Linked DNA regions of Homo sapiens: regions 1 and 2 are each linked to region 3. The links are contacts of gene promoters, found by promoter capture Hi-C in blood cells and fetal thymus (Javierre and others, 2016). All regions are on one chromosome and are shown on one strand. Each heading gives the region's core, a stretch centred on a gene start or on the middle of the fragment in contact. The rest is flanking DNA. Distances are from core to core; before and after follow the strand shown. Region 1 holds the start of MIR5010 (microRNA 5010). Region 2 overlaps ATP6V0A1 (ATPase H+ transporting V0 subunit a1). Region 3 holds the start of CAVIN1 (caveolae associated protein 1).

The links. Contacts are between HindIII fragments. The CHiCAGO score rates a contact against its expected background, and 5 or more counts as called.
Region 1: a fragment that was not itself captured here is called in contact with the fragment with the promoter of CAVIN1 in region 3 in 16 of 17 cell types (endothelial precursors, megakaryocytes, total CD8 T cells and 13 more); the score reaches 26.7 in endothelial precursors.
Region 2: a contact is called between a fragment that was not itself captured here and the fragment with the promoter of CAVIN1 in region 3, in 14 of 17 cell types (megakaryocytes, endothelial precursors, M0 macrophages and 11 more). The highest score is 12.2, in megakaryocytes.

The regions. Positions count from the first base shown.
Region 1 is chr17:42,512,376-42,515,075 of GRCh38, reverse strand. ATP6V0A1 (ATPase H+ transporting V0 subunit a1) reads right to left here. Exons shown (of 22, transcript NM_001130021.3): 20 at 1,098-1,215; 21 at 616-787. It overlaps MIR5010 (microRNA 5010), which reads right to left and starts at 888; the gene lies at 769-888. The HindIII fragment of the contact is 2,506 bases long and covers 26-2,531 here.
Region 2 is chr17:42,487,574-42,490,273 of GRCh38, reverse strand. All of the region lies in intron 10 of ATP6V0A1 (ATPase H+ transporting V0 subunit a1), which reads right to left. Among named protein-coding and RNA genes, the nearest start is that of MIR548AT, 5.8 kb to the left of the region's middle. The HindIII fragment of the contact is 1,543 bases long and covers 570-2,112 here.
Region 3 is chr17:42,421,893-42,424,592 of GRCh38, reverse strand. CAVIN1 (caveolae associated protein 1) reads left to right here and starts at 1,337. Exons shown (of 2, transcript NM_012232.6): 1 at 1,337-1,966. The coding sequence starts at 1,496. It overlaps LOC102725238 (a long non-coding RNA gene), which reads right to left and starts at 1,405. Exons shown (of 4, transcript XR_007065758.1): 1 at 1,321-1,405. The HindIII fragment of the contact is 2,664 bases long and covers 848-2,700 here.

The DNA.
Region 1 (2,700 bases), core at 29-2,528, 91 kb before region 3:
ACACAGCCATTAAGAGTCACAAGCTTCATTAAAGAAAACAAACAGAACCACCCCAAACCTGCCCATGTGAAGAAGCTGCGTGAGTGTACCGACCTCCACCCTATAGAGCCAGGAATCCCTCCGGTCCACAATGGAGCTGCCAGGGGTCCAACTCAAAGACCCCTGGCACAATGACAGAACAAAGAGGATAAAGCTGGGGTGCAGCGTGTTCTAGCCTTTCCTGCACTTAACATACATTCCAGAGCTGCTTCCACTGTTCTGAAGACAGAAGAGTTACACATCAGAGAGAAAACCAGAAACCCTAAGACCCCAGCAGCCCCTTTAAGCCAAAATCAGGAGCACTGGGGACAGCTAAAGGCAGGGAGCGGGACCTGACACCACTCACCAGGGACATCTCCCTAGAGCCTAGGGAAGGCTGAGCTGTGCTTTTCTGTGACCATTTTCCGAAACTCTGTGGCAATGCCGGTGCTGGGGTGTCCTGAGGTGAAGCTAGTGCAGGGCCAGCTCATCTTTCCTGCACAGAGCTGCAGGGCTGTGTGTGGGAGAAAAGCTGCCCTCTCACCGCAGCTAAGGACACATCCACCCCCATGCCCGCCCTGCCCCACTGCCCCTCACCAGTGTAAGCGCAGTGCGTGGAGAAAGGCCGAGAGGCCCTCCATGATCAGGAGGATGGCCACGGTCAGGGTGGCAAAGGCAGTGAAGAAGAAGAACAGCACCAAACCTCCCGCCAAGCTCTTCACGCTCAGGCCGATGTGGATCACCATGGTCCAAAGCACCTCAGACAGCTCTGGGGAATGGGAGACACAAAATCCAGTGCAGTTTGGCAAGAGGCAGCTGTAGGCCATGAATTTTGCTCTGCCATCCCCCTGCTCTAGGGTTCCCTGGATCCTGGCTTCCCACTGCCTTAGTGGGACCACCATGCAGAGCTAACCTGGCACAAGTGCTGAGCCTCCTGTCTGTACTCATTCTCCTTGGGTTCAGGAACCTGAATAATTCCAGAACCTTCATGTAATTTCCATTTGACTTAAGCCCCCCAACTGACAGTGCGCCCACAGAGGGGGAAACTAGAGTTCCGGAGCCCGGAGAGAGGTACTCACGCGCATGAGCGAGGCTGAGGGCCCAGAGCCGCAAGTAGGAGGCAGTGTTGGAGATGCAGCCCAGGCAGTACTCGATGGTGTGGATGGCCTGGTGGACCATGGTGTCCCCAAAGTCAAACTGTCGTGGGAGGAAACCAGAGAGAAGATATAAGGCTAGGAGGGGAACGTGCAGGCATTCTGAGTTGTGGCTACTTGGCGCTTTGAACCTGGGCCAGGGCAGGGGACTGCACTTCCCATGGATGGCACCTCAACTCTGGAGGGGCCAGAAGCACCCAGTGTTGAGCTCAGGTGGTGATTTCGGCAATGCCTTCCCCAAAAATCCTGCCTGACTTAGCCCTCACCTGGGACACCTCCATTCCCCTCAATACATTACATTTTAATTAACTACATCTTAATAAGATTCTTTTCAACACATTTGTTCTTCTCCCTCTGGGGCTCTGTGCTCAAGAGAGGAGTGTGTGCTGAGTTGACGGCACTCTGTTGAGAAAGTGACTGTCTGGGTCTGGGACCCTAAGGACCTGCAGGAGGGCAGGAAGGGATTTTCCCCAGAGTGCGCTTCAGGAGACAGACTCTCAACCCGGACACTGTCCTGAGAAGACTAGGCCTCTATGGCCACTTTACTTATTCTTTTTACAGCCTTTTGGGAGCAAGATAACCTTCTTTTTCTTTTGTGACTTCTAAAGAGATTACACGGTGAATTTTTTTTTCCCTACATGATTTCACCACCATGCACAGGGAAATCCTGACAAAGTTTACAAATTTCCACATGGGTTAAGGCCAAACAGCATATCTGTTTGGGTTAAGACTAAATAGCATATCTCCAGTTTCTTGTTTGTTTTCGTTTTCCTCAAGCTCCCTTTGTCCCAGTTTTCCTTTCAATACCAAGAATTATTTCCAGAATAAAGGAATGGGCTGGAACAAGCTCTTGGGAGTGAACTTTCAGGTTTGCTCCAAGCACAGTCAGGGGTGAATGTGGGCTTCTGAATTTGGTATATTCTGGAAGCCCCAGGTACTTTCCCTGGGCCTCTCTGTCAAGCTGACCAAAGACCAGGAGGCGCTCCCTTATGGGGCTTCCCCCCGCAGAGCCCAGACCAGAATCTTCTGAGCTTTCAGACACTCCTGAGGGCTCAGTGGCCTCCCCATCGGCCCCTGCCCTCAGGTCAGGGTCTATTTTTCACCGCAGTTCCTTTCAAAACCCACGTGATTCCACTCCCAAAGGACACCAGAAATGCCTTGGGAAATCACTGAGAACATGGGGATGGGAGAAAGTGGCTTGGCTGGTAAAGCCACAACAGCCCAGGCCACAGGGGTGCAGCCAGCGTGGAGGGGGCTGGCTCCACCATGCCATCTCTGGGCGAACGTCTGCTTCTCCCTCACCTCTGTCGACACCTAGCCTATTTCTGGGCTTTTCTTCCGGAACAGGCTCTTCAAGCTTCCTTACTTACCCTGAAAACTAGGGTAATCCTAGTTCCCTGAGTTCCCTAAATCCCAACACCGTGGTTAAGAGCTCTTTCCTACCACTGCTGGCTGCCGCCCCAGGGCCCGCATTGAGAGGAAGAAGTCCATGGCTCCCAGGAGTGCTGATCTCTACTCCTATGGGCTG
Region 2 (2,700 bases), core at 92-2,591, 66 kb before region 3:
ATTTATAATGGAAGATTTCTATTAGATCCTCTGAAATACATCCTTAATGTGAAAAAAATTTAACTTTAAAATATGTCACCAAAGAAAATGTGGAACTGCCTCCATATCTGCCTTTTTATGAAAGTTGTTCTCCCCCTTTCATGGAGAAAGCAAAGTATGTTCTCTGGCTCTCCTTCTTCACTACCTTCTCTTAACTTCCTGATCCCTTGCAGTCTGGCTGAGCATGCTTAGGCAAAGTGACTGGCTCCTGACCAAAGAGCTTCTCTCCCCCATGCACGCCCCTGACATTGGAGATCTTTGGTGAAAATCCTTCTTCCTTAGGAGTTCTCCTCCTGCTCGCTGACCATTGCTTTTCTATCTTTGCTGGTTATTTCTGCTCTGCCTATCTCATAGCATTGCAAGACCCCAACCTTTTTTTTCTCTCTATGACCTCCCTCTTGGAGGTCTCATTCCCTTCCATTCTCATGACTCCCATTTCCTTAGCTTTGTTCCCTTGTCTGCTTGACATTTCCACATAGACCTCAATGTGCCCGGAACTGAACTTACCATCTCTCCCCAATCAATAAGCTTCTCTGGCTGAACATTTACTTCCCTCATTGGAACCCTAATTCTCCTGGCCAGTCAGCTTTGATGCCTCAAAAAGATGTTTAAATCTTTCTCCTTGTATTTCTCCTGCACCTTGCTAGGAACCAGGTAGCCCTATTGATTTTTCCTGCAGAACATCTCACAATTCATCATTTTTTTTCCCATTGTCAAGTCCTACCTGGGGATCCTTATCATTTACTACTCTATGTCTACAATAACCTCCTAACTGAACCCCTACCTACAGAATCTCTTCACTCCTCAATCCAACCTAGATACTATCAGCAGATTACTCTTTTAAAACTGCTTTGAGCCAGGAGAAGTGGCTCATGCCTGTAATCCCTGCACTTTGGGAGGCTGAGGCGGGTGGATCACCTGAGGTCAGGAGTTCGACACCAGCTTGGTCAACGTGATGAAACCCCGTCTCCACTAAAAATACAAAAAATTAGCTGGGTGTGGTGGCGCACACCTGTAATCCCAGCTACTCAGGAGGCTGAGGCAGGAGAATCACTTGAAGCAGGGAGGTGGAGGGTGGAGGTTGCAGTGAGCCGAGATCATGCCACTGCACTCCAGCCTGGGCAACAAGAGCAAAACTCCATCTCAAAAAAAAAAAAACCAAAAAACAAAAAAACTGCTTTGATCCACCAGGCGTGGTGACCCACTTTTTTTTTTTTTTTGAGACAGAGTCTCACTCTGCTGTCCAGGCTGGAGTGCAGTGGCATGATCTCAGCTCACTGCAACCTCTGCCTCCTGGGTTCAAGTGGTTCTCCTGCCTCAGCCTCCTGAGTAGCTGGGATCACAGGCACCCACCACCATACCTGGCTAACTTTTTTGTATTTTTAGTAGAGACGGGGTTTTGTCATGTTGGCCAGGCTGGTCTCAAACTCCTGACCTCAAGTGATGACCCGCCTCAACCTCCCAAAGTGCTGGATTACAAGAGTGAGTCACCACGCCTGGCCCCAACACTTTGGAAGGCCAAGGAAGGCAGATCACTCGAGCCCAGGAATTTGAGATCAGCCTGGGCAACATGGCAAAACCCTGTCTCTACAAAAAATTAGCCACGCATGATGGTGGGCACCTGTAGTCCCAGCTACCGGGAGTCTGAAGTGGGAGGATTGCTTAAGCCCAGGAGTTGGAAGCTGAAGTGAGCTGAGATGGCACCACTGCACTCCAGCCTGGGTAACAGAGCAAGATCTTGTCTCAAACACAAAATTAAAAATGTAAAAAACCACCCAAACTGCTTTGATCATGTTCCTTTACCCCTAAAGAACTTCCAATGTCTCTCAACTTCCTCTGGAATAAAATTTAAATCTTCTAAGCTATTATTTAAGAACCTTTCACAATTAAGTTCCAAACTACCTGATGCAGACAGGTACTTCTCTTCAGCTAACCCACTGTAAATCCTGTTCTTGTCCAAACATACATGGTCTAACCATACTTCCTGCCTTTGTTTTCTTCTCTTCATTCAGCAGTCTTACCAACAACTTATCATTCTTCAAAGACCTGATCAAATGCCACCTGCTTAAAGCTTTTTCCAACTCCATAGTTGGAACTCTCCTAATAAACTGTAAGATACTCGAGGGCATGTTTTATACATCTCTGTACTCCTCCAGGCACTTACAGCACTTCTGTGGACAGAGTAGTTGTTCTAATTAACTACTAAACAGAAACAGTCATATACAGAGAGGGCATCAGGAAACTGATGCCCTGGCCATGAACAACCCTGAAGAATCATGGGCATATGACCAAATTATTTCAGCTCTCTGAACTGCAGTCTCCACATATGCAAAATAAAGATATGCTATGCTACGCTATGATATACATATTATATGCCAGGCTATGTATGAAATGTGCTGTCAAGTTAAAAGACAAATAAATATATTGAAGAACTCTGAAGGTGAAATGCCATAAAAATGACATTAATGTTACTATTTATTTATTTTTTATTATTATTTTTTTTTTTTGAGACAGAGTCTCGCTCTGTTGCCCAGGCTGGAATGCAGTGGCGCAATCTCAGCTCACTGCAAGCTCCGCCTCCCAGGTTCACTTGATTCTTCTGCCTCAGTCTCCAGAGTAGCTGGGACTACAGGCGCCTGCCAACACGCCCGGCTAATTTTT
Region 3 (2,700 bases), core at 88-2,587:
CAGCTCATTGCAACCTCTGCCCCCCGGGTTCAAGTGATTCTCCTGCCTCAGCCTCCCGAATAGCTGGGATTACAGGCATGCGCCACCACGCCTGGCTAATTTTGTATTTTTAGTAGAGATGGGGTTTCTCCATGTTGGTCAGGCTGAGGTCGAACTCCCGACCTCAGGTGATCCACCCACCTCCGCCTCCCAAAATGAGCCACTGCGCCTGGCCTAATTTTTGTATTTGTAACAGAGACGGGGTTTCACCATCTTGGGCCAGGCTGGTCTTGAACTCCTGACCTCGTGATCCACCCGCCTGGGCCTCCCAAAGTGCTGGGATTACAGGCATGAGCCACCGCGCCTGGCCTAAGAGAGGTGGGCTTTTAAAAAGGGCTTTACACCAGGCGCGGTGGCTCCCAGCACTTTGAGAGGCTGAAACCAGCAGATCACTTGAGCTCAGGAGTTCGAGACCAGCCTGGTCAAAATAGTGTACACCCCGTCTCTTAAAAAAATAAAAATTGAAAAAAATAAAAATTGAAATTAGCTGGGCGTGGTGGCAAGCGCCTATAGTCTCATCTACTCAGGAGGCTGAAGTGGGAGGATTGCCTGAGCCCAAGAGGTCGAGGCTGCAGTGAACTGTGATCAGACCGCTGCACTCCAGCCTGGGTGACAGAGTGACACCCTGTCTCAGAAAGGGGGGTTGGGAGGTGGGCTTTATTTTCCGTTTGATTGCCCATCTTAATTCTACTCTGTTAGGGCAATTCTAAAAAGAACTTAGAGGAGCTTCGCAGCCCTTCACCACCACCGTGACCCCAAATACGTTCTCTCTTTCTCCCCCCGCCCCCCACAAACAACCCCCTAAGCTTACCCCTGAGTTAGTAACCTGGTTGGGGTTGGTGATGAGGAAATCCGAGAGGCCTCTTAGAAAATATTGTAAAGGGCAAGGGTCCTTTTGTGCTCAAAATCTAGGTAAAGGCAAATACAAGATTTTGCCTATAATTTCAGAATCTCCTGGTCCACCCGGCTCCCAGATCTTGAGGATTTTCGGATGAGCAATTCAAGTGAGAGGGAAACAGAGAGCAACACTCTTAGAACCTGATTCCGTTCCTCAGCTCGCATTCCTCCGCCCGTCCCGCTCCCGCCGCCAGCGGAGGCCCTAGTCTCCCGCTCCAACTATTCCAACCATCCCGGGAAGGGTGGGGCGCTCGGCTCTTGGGTCCCCCTCCGCCGCCCCGCCTCGTCGATCTCCCCTTCTGCCCCGGTCCCTCCCTTTCTGGGGTGGGGCCAGCCAATCAGCGATCAGACTCCGGAGTTTGGCCCGGGAGCTGGGGAGCTCACCGATCCCCCGCCCAGCAGTTCTGGCCGCTGTCCCGGTGCGCACGGACGTGGCTCGAGTTTCCTCTGCTCTCCGCTCTCGCCCGCTAGCTCTCCTCCCTTCCGCTCCTGCTTCTCTCCGGGTCTCCCGCTCCAGCTCCAGCCCCACCCGGCCGGTCCCGCACGGCTCCGGGTAGCCATGGAGGACCCCACGCTCTATATTGTCGAGCGGCCGCTTCCCGGGTACCCCGACGCCGAGGCCCCGGAGCCTTCCTCCGCTGGGGCTCAGGCAGCGGAGGAGCCGTCGGGGGCCGGCTCAGAAGAGCTGATCAAGTCGGACCAGGTGAACGGCGTGCTGGTGCTGAGCCTCCTGGACAAAATCATCGGGGCCGTAGACCAGATCCAGCTGACTCAAGCACAGCTGGAGGAGCGGCAGGCGGAGATGGAGGGCGCAGTGCAGAGCATCCAGGGCGAGCTGAGCAAGCTGGGCAAGGCGCACGCCACCACGAGCAATACGGTGAGCAAGCTGCTGGAGAAGGTGCGCAAGGTCAGCGTCAACGTGAAGACCGTGCGCGGCAGCCTGGAGCGCCAGGCGGGGCAGATCAAGAAGCTGGAGGTCAACGAGGCCGAGCTGCTGCGGCGCCGCAACTTTAAAGTCATGATCTACCAGGTGAGCCCACAGGGCGGAAGGCGCCCAGAGCTCCCGCGCCCGGCCCGCGTCCCCTGCCTGGGAGTTGGGGTGGGGAGACCTGCCCGTGGCGCTGCTCCCCTCCCAGCCTGGCCCGGGCGCCCGGCAGATCCACCCTCCTTCCGGTGAGCGCGGCTGGGGTGGGGTTGGGTGGGGTAGGATGGGGTGGAGGGAGCGGCGGACTCCTGGGGCGCGTAGAGGGGCGCGCTCTGCACCTCGCACCTCCCCACTCAGATCCTTCCCTCGGGTCCCAAACTTGTAGCAGAACCGAATTAGCGGGTGGACTCGAGGACGCTGCCCCTCGCAGACCGCTCCCTCCCTAATTGGCTCTGTCAAACTTCTTCCTACTTGGGGGAAGTTTCTAGGAAAGTCAGGGGTCCCTCGCGATCGTTGGGGTCCGCTGTAAGCGGACACTGGCTGCGGGGCCCGGGCCTGGGGCCTCTGCGCCTGCGGGCCTGATATAGCGGGTGATTCAGGGCTCAGGCACGCACCAGCGGGGGCTGTGCCAAGCGGGGAACGCGACCGCCAACCTCCTCCCCAGACCCTGCGCCCCCGCGCCCCCACATCGGCCTCGGCGGCCCACCCCTGTCCCCTCGCTGCTCTCTGCTCCTGGCCACCAGGCATTTTCAGGCCCTTGAGGACACCCTCACCCGCGGCGCGCTGGCACCCTGGGCCTCCTGGAAGCGGGCGGGGCTGGGCGGGGAAGAGTGGGCGTC